4 separate regions of the Homo sapiens genome follow, and regions 2, 3 and 4 are each linked to region 1. The links are contacts of gene promoters, found by promoter capture Hi-C in blood cells and fetal thymus (Javierre and others, 2016). All regions are on one chromosome and are shown on one strand. The core of a region is centred on a gene start or on the middle of the fragment in contact, and the rest is flanking DNA. Distances in the headings are between cores, read along the strand shown.

The links. The method cuts DNA at HindIII sites, captures the fragments that hold promoters and counts their contacts. A CHiCAGO score of 5 or more calls a contact.
Region 2: a fragment that was not itself captured here is called in contact with the fragment with the promoter of SCGN in region 1 in 1 of 17 cell types (naive CD4 T cells); the score reaches 5.1 in naive CD4 T cells.
Region 3: a contact is called between a fragment that was not itself captured here and the fragment with the promoter of SCGN in region 1, in 9 of 17 cell types (megakaryocytes, naive B cells, M0 macrophages and 6 more). The highest score is 9.5, in megakaryocytes.
Region 4: a fragment that was not itself captured here is called in contact with the fragment with the promoter of SCGN in region 1 in 5 of 17 cell types (erythroblasts, M2 macrophages, megakaryocytes and 2 more); the score reaches 7.3 in erythroblasts.

What each region holds. Positions count from the first base shown.
Region 1 is chr6:25,650,919-25,654,041 of GRCh38, forward strand. It overlaps SCGN (secretagogin, EF-hand calcium binding protein), which reads left to right and starts at 1,297. Exons shown (of 11, transcript NM_006998.4): 1 at 1,297-1,567; 2 at 2,464-2,534. The coding sequence starts at 1,486. The HindIII fragment of the contact is 2,826 bases long and covers 1-2,151 here.
Region 2 is chr6:25,186,599-25,189,558 of GRCh38, forward strand. No RefSeq gene overlaps it. Among named protein-coding and RNA genes, the nearest start is that of CARMIL1, 91 kb to the right of the region's middle. The HindIII fragment of the contact is 1,483 bases long and covers 646-2,128 here.
Region 3 is chr6:25,239,195-25,242,161 of GRCh38, forward strand. No RefSeq gene overlaps it. Among named protein-coding and RNA genes, the nearest start is that of CARMIL1, 39 kb to the right of the region's middle. The HindIII fragment of the contact is 2,247 bases long and covers 229-2,475 here.
Region 4 is chr6:25,222,958-25,225,744 of GRCh38, forward strand. No RefSeq gene overlaps it. Among named protein-coding and RNA genes, the nearest start is that of CARMIL1, 55 kb to the right of the region's middle. The HindIII fragment of the contact is 1,739 bases long and covers 508-2,246 here.

The sequences.
Region 1 (3,123 bases), core at 47-2,546:
GTTTATTAAAATTTTCTTAATTTTTACCTAATGGCCTTTTTCTGTTCCGGCATCACACCCAGGATAAAACATTACATTTCTTTGTCATTTTTCATTAGGTTCCTCTTGGCTATGACAATCTCTTAGACTTTACTTGTTTTCTCTAACAGAGTCATCCCTCATCAGCTACAACACCATAGCAGATATAATTCATTGTGCATTACTATGTATGGTTCTGATCCTCACAGCAACCCTCCAAAACAGATGTTTTAATCCTCATTTTATAGATAAGAAAATTGAGGCTTAGGGAGATGAGAACTAATGGTGCAGTTCACAAAGCTGGTAAATAATGGAACTCAGATCCTGACCCAGGACTATCTGACCTTGAGTGTCATGTTCTTTTCACTACTCTGGTTTAGATGACTTATACATGCATGCTTTTTATAAATAAATCTGAATGCTAAAACCAGAGTCAGGGTGCCATAAAGAAAAGTTACATCTGGTTCAACTTTCTTATCTAATATCCAAGCACTTTCTATAGATTATCCAACGAAAATTTCTAAATATATAGTCAAAAGGTATCAGTGTAGTTTGTACACGTTTCCACAAAGCCTTGCCCAATTTTGAACAGTCCTGATTGTTAGAAAGCTCTGTGTTCCTCCAACTGATTTTTATCCTTTGGTCTTAATGTGGCTCTTAGGAGCCAAACACAATCATCTAAGCCTTCTACCTAAGTACCCTGCAGGCAGACACATCTCCCCCAGACTCTCTTTTCCTGGCAGAGTACGGCTTAGTTTATATTTTCCTCAGCATCCTAATGATGCTACTTTAAATCACAGTGACTTGCAGTATCCCTGTTTAGTTGCAAGTCCTTATAGTGCATTTTGGTACAGCAATGTGTATGTCCTATACAATCAGGACTCAATAATTGCTGTTGACTTCTTCCTTAAAGGGAACCACTTACCACCATCACCATCCCTTCTCGCCTCCCCTCTCCACACACTACATTTCTAAATCCTCAAGTCCAAAGGACCCTAACACTGACACTTCTTGCAACCCTTTAAATGAGGCAGCTCTCCCTAGAAAACCCCTTGAGACACAAGTTTGGAAAGTGAGTCAAACGTAAGAGGGATGTCTTCTCCGAGTCTGAGAAGCAAGTTAAAGGGCAAAAGCAGTGAGCCGTGGACGCCTGGAGACAGTTTCTTTCTTCCTGAATTCCCCAAAGCGCAGAGACAGACAGGATCTGCCAGGACAGCGCGCAGGGCGGGGCGGGGACAGGCGCGCCAGGAGCGGGGCGGGCTTCCAGCCGCTGGTTTTGCTGAGGGCTGAGGGACGGCTCAGCGACGCCACGGCCAGCAGCGCTCGCGTCCTCCCCAGCAACAGTTACTCAAAGCTAATCAGATAGCGAAAGAAGCAGGAGAGCAAGTCAAGAAATACGGTGAAGGAGTCCTTCCCAAAGTTGTCTAGGTCCTTCCGCGCCGGTGCCTGGTCTTCGTCGTCAACACCATGGACAGCTCCCGGGAACCGACTCTGGGGCGCTTGGACGCCGCTGGCTTCTGGCAGGTCTGGCAGCGCTTTGATGCGGATGGTGAGTAGAACAAGCCACTTGCACACTCAGGTGTAGACGTGGCTCCAAGCTCAGCCCGCTGAAAGGACCTGGAGTTTCCCCTTTACTGTAGGAAAAGTTATCGACCTGGGTTGTTAATGCAGTGTACCTAATACAGTATCATTAACAGACGTTTGGCATACTGGTGATACACATCTATATACCTTGTTAAAATTCTGGGTGGTGAATTTCCACTTTCCCCTTTCCAATCTCTCTTTGTGTGCGAGCGCGCCATATATATGGTAGACATACATATATATTGTATATACAATGACTAATATCATTGTATATGTTCAAGGCTTGTGGGCTGAGACTCAGCTATTTGAAGTCATCCTTCCCTAAATGGGCTCACTTTTACGCAGTGACTTTGCTGTACACCCCTCACTCTCTCAAAATGAGAATAAATTTTATCAGCTTTCAAAACGACTCCTCCACCAAAAAACTACTTGAAAATAAAATGGAACTACTTAATATTTGTTTTTATTAATAAAGAAATAAAATATCTAAAAGGTGTGTTTTAACTCTGCAAACTGGGATTCAATACTTACACCTGTTAAGTTTCTCCAAGCTTCAGAAATTTTGGGGTTAAATTTTATTGGAAAGTTCACGTTTATTCATTGATTAAAATTCATGTACTTAATAGCCTTCCTTTTCCAAGCACTAATATAAACCCTAGCATAAAGCACGTATTCTGGAACAGTGTTTACTGTTCAAACCCATGTATTCTAGAGGTAGGTGTTGGCACTTTGTTATTGGAATAACAAAAAATAGTGTTGAGGGAAGCTTTATGAATTGTGAGATTAAAAACATATTTAGATAAATACTGTCATGTGTTTTTTATATGTTAGTATTATTTATGTTTATTTTCTCACATTTAGAAAAAGGTTACATAGAAGAGAAGGAACTCGATGCTTTCTTTCTCCACATGTTGATGAAACTGGGTACTGATGTAAGTACTTGCACACTAAGCCTTAATTTATGCCTCTTAGTAAGATACGCACATCCAAGTCTTATATTGATTGGTACCTATTAATTCCAACTCACCTCCTTTCTTCCTTGCATGTATGTAATTTCTCCCCCTCTCCTAGCAACATAGAGGGATTTAGGCAGTTTTTATAAAAGGTGCAACTGTAGCATTAGACATGCTGGTTACTGACTTTCAGTGTAACATCTGTCATCCACTCAGAGATCCTAACTGTAGACTCAGTTAACTTGGTCTTGAACGTCTCCTTGGTTATGTCTCTGCTAATTGATTTATACCTGGGGGTAAAGTAGCCCACTTTGTTCAAAAAGCTGGAAAAGATGTTAAGCACATTAAGATTTTGGGTGTTTAATATGTATGATACTCCTCTGATAGCAAACCACAAACCATTTAAAATCATTTATCCATTATTCATTTTATTAGAAGAGGTTACAGATTTTTCAGGGAATGACAAACCAGAAAACAACCAGCATACTCAGAGCCCAGATACAAATGGAAGCCAATCTATCTAGTGTCCATCTGATGGTAAATATGTCCTTGGGAGATGTAAATGAAC
Region 2 (2,960 bases), core at 137-2,636, 460 kb before region 1:
TTAGAACAAATTAGACAATGAAGAATGGTGATCTCCAAGAAACAGGAAATAAATGATGTGAGCCAATGATTGCCCCAGTATACTATTTGGAGGAAGTTTTTTCAGGTCACAGGGCAGGGAAGAGGCACCTTTGTGGAGGTATCCTGGAACTGAGGAGACAGCTGAGAGTCTGGAGAGTAAGGTGGCTAGAGTGCCTAGGGCAGAGCACCAAAGACATGAGAGCTGCCCTGGGAAAACTTGAAGACCTACAGAAGGTCCCCCTCAAACATTCAGCTAAGTGCTGATCAGTGCATGTGTGTGGGAGAATGCCCAAGGTCAGGGGAAGAACCACTAAATTAACGTGAGGAAACAATCATCAGAGCTCACATAGTGCTAGAAAGGGTGAAAACTTGTGAATCTGTCTTCTGGGAATGTCAGGCTCTGTGACAGTCACACAGAGGTCAGTCTCTGCATACCCAAGACTTAAAAACATCTGTGAAATTGAACCGCTAACTCAGCAAGTGTTTCAGCAGGTGAGTCAACTATGTACCAAGCACTTGGAGCCATTAATAACACCCTACCAACCTGACTCAAAGTGTTGCTCAGGAAAAGTCTCTCTTAAGTGGGAACACCTCCCATGCTCATCAAATGCCACCATCCCCCAAAAGCTTCCTCCACACCAGCCATCTTTCTGGGTACTCCTCCTAGCTTGCCACCCCTAAGCCCTGGGACTTTTCCTTCCTGCTCTTTCCCATCAATACTGCCCTGTCTCATTCCTTCAGGACCTGGCCCCTCTGCTACTCAAAGTGGCAGCAAGCCTTCTCATAGCCTAACCAGCGCAAATGAGTGAGAAGCTGAGAGTTAAAGTGATTTCACCCAGTCACTCTCCTTCTCAGTGCAATGCGTTATGTAGTAGCAGTAGGGGTTTTCAGGAAATGCATGATCTCAACACGGAATAGCTGCCGTGTGGACATTGCTGGTATGCTAGCAAACAGAGTGAGGAAGAGTTTGGAGCAAGCAGGCATGACCATGCCCCCTTAAATCCCATCAAAGACAAAGTGACATTTTTCTCCACACATAATCCACCCCTGGGAAGATGCAGGACAGAGTCACAGAGCATTTCACATGTGTTAGGGGAATGTCCTATGTGTTTGGGGAAAACAAAAGGAAGATAGGAAGGAGGAAAAAATAAAGGAGATTCAGTCAACAAGCACTAGTTGAATATCCTACACATGCCAGGTACTGCTCTAGGTTTTGGGGTTATAGCAGTGAACAAATGGTTTTGTTCCTTTTATACTACCATGGAAATTTCCACCTTGGAGGACACAGAACTTTGAATGTGTCTTTGTAAGAAGTTTCCCAGATAAGTTTGATTGTCAGGCAATTTGAGGAACCACTATTGAAGCAACAGTTGAGATTCTTCTCATTGATCCAAAAAGCAACCTACAATACTCATGGCTGTTGACTTTGGAAAACAGTTTTATTGAATATCAAGGTGCTATCTTTCTTCACACAGTCTACCAAAGGTTTGCTTTGATGTCCTCCTAATCCTTCTCCAAACACTGAGGCCCCTCCCAATCTACTCCATATACTTATGCTTTGTGTATCAGGTCCCACCTGCACCTCTTAGAAAGTACCCCAACTCCCAATTATTTATCAGTCTCTTCACCACATGCCCATCAATTATATTTAGCAATATAATACGTACTGAGGACTTTTGATAAGAGGTATGTTCCTTCTGATTTATACATATTTTCTCATGTCATCCTAAAACTTTATGTAGTGGGTATTATCCTGCAGAAGAGGAAAGTGAGACAGACAGATTATATAACAAGACCATTGTTACTGAGAATGAGGTCATTCTTTATGTATTAACATGACCTTCCATCTTTCTACTGTGCCTCCATCATACTGAATAATACCTTAAGTTTTGAAATTGAGAGGGAGAAGAGGGAGAGAGAGAGAAAAGGAGAGAGACCTAGAGGGAATTGGGGGAAGAGAGGGGGAGAGGCTCTTAAATACAACACCTCTTCCATTTACTTGATATATGAACTTCACCTCTTAAAGCCTCTTTTCCACATCTGCAACAGAGAAATAATGACTCCTACTCTATGTAGGTTGTGGGGTTTAAATGAGGTTATGGATATAAAGCTTCTAAGTACTGCACTTGCTACATGATAAGCTTAAGTATGTGATAATAACAGCCCTATATCCATATACTCTGTTTTTTCTTCAGTTTTTTTTTTTTAAACCAGTATCTGACATTATATTGTGTGCGTGGTAGGTGGGTGTATTATCTCTCTGTCCCACTGTATTTTTTTTTTTTTTGAGACAAAGTCTCACTCTTGTTGCCCAGGCTGGAGTGCAATGGCATGACTTCGACTCAACGCAGCCTCTGCCTCCCAGGTTCAAGTGATTCTCTTGCCTCAGTCTCCCAAGTAACCAGGATTACAGACGTACGCCAACACACCCAGCTAATTTTTGCATTTTTAATAGAGACGGGGTTTCACTATGTTGGCCCAGGCTGATCTTGAACTCCCAACCTCAGGTGATCCACCCGCCTCAGCCTCCCAAAGTACTGGGATTACAGGCATGAGCCACTGCACCGTGCTGTCCCATTGTATATCATAAGCTCCACATGAGAAGGAATTTTGCCACATTTACCTCTGTATCCACAGTGCTTACAATGATGGCTGGCTTCTAGTAGGCACACTTTAAGTATTTGTTGAAGGAATGGTTGTTATGACCATAATCTTCCCTACAGCACCTTACTACAAACATAGTAGTTGCCCTACGAATGCTTTCTATGTGGTTTGCAGTAAATAGAATGCAAAACCCTTATTATCATACTATATTGCCACCCATCTCAGCTAAACTGAATGAATAAATAACCTTCTGGCTGGGGTAACCTATTTGAAGATAGAGGTCACAAAAACAAAGAGGGCATTTAATAAATATTGATTATTCATTACATTGCCTGC
Region 3 (2,967 bases), core at 102-2,601, 410 kb before region 1:
GAAAACTAAAGAACAAACTGTCTGCCAAAAGTCTCAGAGAAACAGGATTATTACTTTGATGCTGGTTCCAAGGGCCTCCCTTAGCTTTCCTGGTAATAAATTATTGTCTCATATCACACTGGCAGAGAAAACAGTAAAATATTTATTTTGGAATATCTGCTTTCTATCTGGCAGGGATTTGACATTTTAAAACCTTTTCAAAATATTTTAGAACCACAAAATACAGTAAGCTTTGAATTAAGAATTAATTAGGGTTTTCTTTATCCCTACTGTTTGATCAATTTTTCAAAAGCCAAAAAAAAAAAAGTGCTACACAGAATACAATTAACTGTTAGTTTTCAGTAATTTTAAAGTGTGCTGTTGCTTAGAAGGCAGACTGGATCAGATGACCTCTTGGGATCCTTTCGAGCTCAGTAATTCTAACTTTTATATTCAATGAGTTTTATCTTGCACTTATCACCCATTGCTCAACCTGGCCCTTTCCTCTTTACCACATATTTTCTTTATGTCTTAATTTTCCTTTTATACTCACAGAGGGTGTCTAACCCTTTATTGGTATAATTATGGAAATGTTTTTATGTGAACATTAATCTAACAATGAAGGAGACAAGAGCAGAATGCCAGGTTCAGTAATGCTTATGCAGTCATGAGCATGAAACACTCTTAGAACATTTTATTTTATTTATTTACTTTTTTAAGACAGGGTCTTACTCTTTTGCCCAAGCTGGAGTGTAGTAGCGCAATCTCGGCTCACTGCAAAACCCCCTCCCCGGCTCAAGGGATCCTCCCAAGTCAGCTTCCTGAGGAGCTGGGATTAGCATGTGTTACCACACCTGGCTAATTTTTGTATTTTTAGTAGAGCTGGGGTTTCATCATATTGGCCAGGCTGGTCTCAAACTCCTGACCTCAAGTGATCCATCCATCTCGGACTCCCAAAGTGCTAGGATTATAGGCATAAGCCACCATGCCTCTTAGAACATTTTAAAAAATTAAGTCTTGGCTTGAAATCTGATGTAGTGTGACTATACTTGAGAATAATAGGAAATTTCCCAAATGCTAAAGACTTAAAGTACAAGAGAAAGTCAGTGTTCTTTTTTCATACATAACTTTCTACAGGAAAGATAAAAGAAAAACTATCACAATATTATGTATTATTTATCCTCGCTAGTTTATCAAACAACAGTTTTGTAATTTAATGAAATTCCTGTTTTCTATATGAGTATATTGCTCTAACATATGCTGTATATGATTAATGTTTCATTTGTTTGGCTAGTTACTGCTCATTGCTCTGTGTGTGTGTGTGTGTGTGTGTGTGCGAGACAGAGAGAGACCATGTTAAACACAGTATTATTCACCTGTTGTTCGCCTGTTGGTTAACGCTCTGGTATCCATGTCCCACTTAACCTTTCCCAACAGTCTACACTTCTATTGGAAATTTATTGTTACTCTACCCCCAACTATCCCATTATTTCAGGGATAAAATGAATGACATGTACTGCGCCCAAGAAAGTCTTATTGCCCTCATTGCAGTGATTAGATCAGTCATGGGTCTGTGGTCTAAGTCAAGTGCGAATTTCAGGATTTTTGCTGACAATTCTGGAACACATGTTTCTTTCTTTCTGTGTAGTGTGGGATGTGGATGTGAAGGGAGAACTGCTATCCTCACTTTGCCACCATATAGTATGTTCACCTCAGAATGAATCGAACACATTTTCTCTGACTTTACAATACAAAAAAATGTTTTTGAAGAATTGCCAGGCACTGTGGCTCATGCCTCTAATCTCAACACTTTGGGAGACCAAGGCAGGGAGATTACTAAAGGCCAGGAGTTCAAGACCAGACTGGCCAACATGGCAAAATCCCATCTCTACTAAAAATACAAAAAAATTAGCCAGGCGTGTTGGTGTATGCCTGCAGTGCCAGTTACTTAGGAGGCTGAGGCATGAGAATTGCCTGAACCTGGGAGATGGAGGTTGTAGTGAGCCAAGATCATGCCACTGCACTCCAGCCTGGGTGACAGAGCAAGACCTTGTCTCAAAAGAAAAAAGAAAAAGCAAACAAAAAAGAAGAAATTGGGCAGGCCCAGTGGCTCACACCTGTAATCCCAGCACTTTGGGAGGCTGAGGCAGGCAAATCACCTGAGGTCAGAAGTTTGAGACAAGCCTAGTCAACATGGTAAAACCCTGTATCTACTAAAAATACAAAAATTAGTCGGGCGTGGTGGTGCACACCTGTAATCTCAGCTACTTGGGAGGCTGAGGCAGGAGAATCACTTGATCCCCGGAGGCAGAGGTTACAGTGAGCTGCGACTGCACCACTGCACACTAGCCTGGGTGACAAAGCAAGACTTGTCTAAAAAAATAAATAAATAAATAAATCCAACACACAAGAGGCAAAATTAAAGAGAAATTTAACCCTGATTGATCTGTACCTAAAAGAATAATTTCCCTCTATTGTATAAGGAAGTTTGAATTAAGCTTTTGGTTACTTGCAACTGAAAATAAAACTACTGCAGGATCTCAGACGTGGATATGGCCTTGGAAGCACAGAAGAAGACAAATGGTTCTGGCCTTCTCCAGAAACAATACCTTGTAAGAACTTCTTGGTTTAGGAAGAGACTAAGGAAAGTATAAGAAGAGGAGATCTTTTACTTTCATTCATTGTTACTGACTTTTTGCTTAGTTGTTCTGTTCATTATTGAGAAGTATGTTTAAGTTTCCAACAATGATTGTGGATTTGTCTATTTCTGTCTTTAGTTCTGTCAGATGTTTGCTTCACACATTTTGAAGCTCTGTTAATTAGGCACATATACGTTTATAATTGCTCCATTTTACTGATGTATTTGACTTTTTTATTAGTATGAAGTATTTGTCTTTGTCTCTAGTAATACTTCTTTATTGAAGTCTATTTTGTTTAATCTTAATAAAATCACTCCAGTTTTCTCCAGTTTTCCATGCTACATATTTT
Region 4 (2,787 bases), core at 127-2,626, 430 kb before region 1:
ACTAGAGTTTATGCCTGTAAGTGATCTTTTGATAATAAAACATGTAGGATTTTAAAATTTTGATACTCAATTTTTACAAAAACAAAACTGAAATGTACACCACTGTTTCACAGAGGATATCTTATAAGAGAATTAGAATGGCTGAATCTGAACTTGGCTTCCATAGCTTCTCACATCCAGAAATTCCAAATAAATAAAGTAACTCAAACAACGGCAGTCTGACAACTCCTATCAGACCTGGAGGACACAGGGACCCATCTTCCATGTGTTAAAGGGTGAGGAAGAAAGTAAAATAGGAAAACAAAAAAAGTATGCTTTATCCAAGGGCCTATGTCTTCCCCAAATGACTTTACATTCAGAATCTCTTTGCCTAACTCTCCCCAATTTGAGAGGTATTTTTCTTCAAAATCCTGATCCTGCTTTCATTCCATTCCCTGTTTAGTATAAATTCCTGGCTAAACACACTTGGTCTCAGAGAACCATGTCAAAGGTTACTAAGGTCAAAAAAGCTTTTCTTATTTTCTGACAGTCCCTGAGGTCCTGAGAGAATGCATTCTTCTTTTGTTTGGCTGGTAAATAGGAAGTTCTGCATTTTACTTTCCCCAACAAGGAAGCAAATATTTTCTTATTGTCTTATTCTGTGGCTGTATTAAAGAAAAAAATCAGCATTTCCAGAGCTCTATGCTAACAGGCCACTGGGTGGCAGTCCTGAGCTGTAATGCAGAAGAGAAGAGTCAGGAAAAACCTGTAAACCAGAGCGGGAGATATAATAATGTTCAGGAGATAACAACGTCATCAAAGATCAACTACTTTCCACCAATAGAGCCTAATTAAATGAAAGGAATCATACCAGGAAAAAATGGAGGTAGTATCATACGTTTAAATTAAAACTGCCCAAGACGCTTAGATAAAATTGGCAGAAAAGCATCCCTCCTTCCACTTTCATTATCACCAAGGTAACATGGTCCAGAGTGGAGCTGAATGTCAACCCAGTGCTAATGGGCAGGCTTCTTCCTACTCAATTTTCCCTTTTTCACCAGGACTTCAGAATAAAGCACTAGAACTCACACTGTCCTGCTCTGCAAGCTCCAACCCCAGATTAATCCTGAAATCCCCCTTCTCTGCTTCTATATCTTAGTGATTTGGGGCTTCTAGAGAGAAGTACAACCGTGGGAACTGGTATCTTCACAAAGGTATACTTTCCGATTTCAGAAGAATACTCCATTCATCTTGTCAATACTTCTCCTTATCTAAAAACAGCATCTCTCCCCTCATCCCTTCTCCTTCCCTCACTCCTCTCTATAGCGAGAATCTCATACCTTCAGTTCTGTCCATCCCCTGTCAGCAAGTGATCTTGCCCCCACAGAGACTACTGAGCCCACAAACCCTCAAATCTTCACTCTTCCATCCCACCCCCATACACATCCTGCCCCCATACAGGTTTATCTTCATTTTCACTCATTCTTGCTTCCTGTCCCACCAATCACAAGAAATAGAACAGCTGCCCTCCTCTCCCCTCCAGGTGTCTCCCAGCATTTCACCACATGCATCAATTTCTGTGTCTACATAAACTGTTTGCCCCGCCCCCACCCCCGAATGCTAATATGACAAGAGGACATATTAGAGGAGAATCGAATTCTCTTAGCAAATGGCATGAAAATTCCTTTTGGAGATTTCTTAGAAAAATTCATGGATAAGCCCATTGAGGTTGAAGGCGAGACCTTGACTCTGGGTTGATCACTCAGTTCTAGACAAGAAAAGTAATTCCTTGCTCTAAAGGAGGAGGAAGTTGGGAAAAACGGAGGAGGAGCCAGCAGGATGGCAGAGGGCAGTGTGGTTGGGCGTATAACCCCTCTCCAGGAGCACCTCCAAACTACCTTAAAGTTCCTTGTTAAATTGTTAACTCAATAGATTACCATTAACATGAGTGTTTGTGTAGAAACTGGCGAGAAGGCTGAGATTCGCACTGTGGTGCCACAAGATGGATCTGAAACCACAGGTACAGATGTGGCAGGGGACACAAAGAGAAGCATGAGGGAGCAAGCCTCAGAAATTTAGGGAAATCATAAAAGGAATCTTGGACTGTGGCTTTGGACCAGGTTTACAAAGATGGACCAACATCTCACAGAGCCAGGGAGGCCCCAGCTGACATTGGCTTGCTCTAGCTTCTCCCATCCTAAACAAAAGCCTCTCTACCCTGAGCCCTTTTTCACTTTCTCCTTCTGTCATCATCCAACTCTCTCAGAAGCTTGGTCTGTACTTGTGGCAGCTTCAGCACCTCCCAATAATTTCTCAAACTTCTGCTGACTGTTCTCACCAAGGTCATCAATGATGTCCTCATGAGGAACATTCTCAGTCCTTGTCTCACAGAACAGTTCTTCTTCATTAGGCACCACTGATAACTTTCATCTTATCTCTCCTTGGGTCTCTGACCTTTCCAGTTGCCTTCACCATGGGCTGCTCCTCTTCTTTCTGCTGCTTAAATGTCAGTGTTAGGGATTGAGGAGGTGCATTTCCAACCAGCATCTGAAAGACTTATGATGTTCACCAAACTAGGGTTAACAAGCCTGTGAGTTGAATTTGACTACAATTGAGTCAAACTGAATGGTGCAATCAGAGTGTGAATGAAGGAAAATAAAGAAACCAAGGGAGGAAACATTATAAATGGCAGGGAAGGGAGGCCAAGAATGTTCTTGAGAATATTAAGAATATTCTGAGAATAAAAGAAACAAGCTGGGTATGGTGGCTCACACCAGCAATCCTAGCACTTTAGGGAGCTGAGGCAGA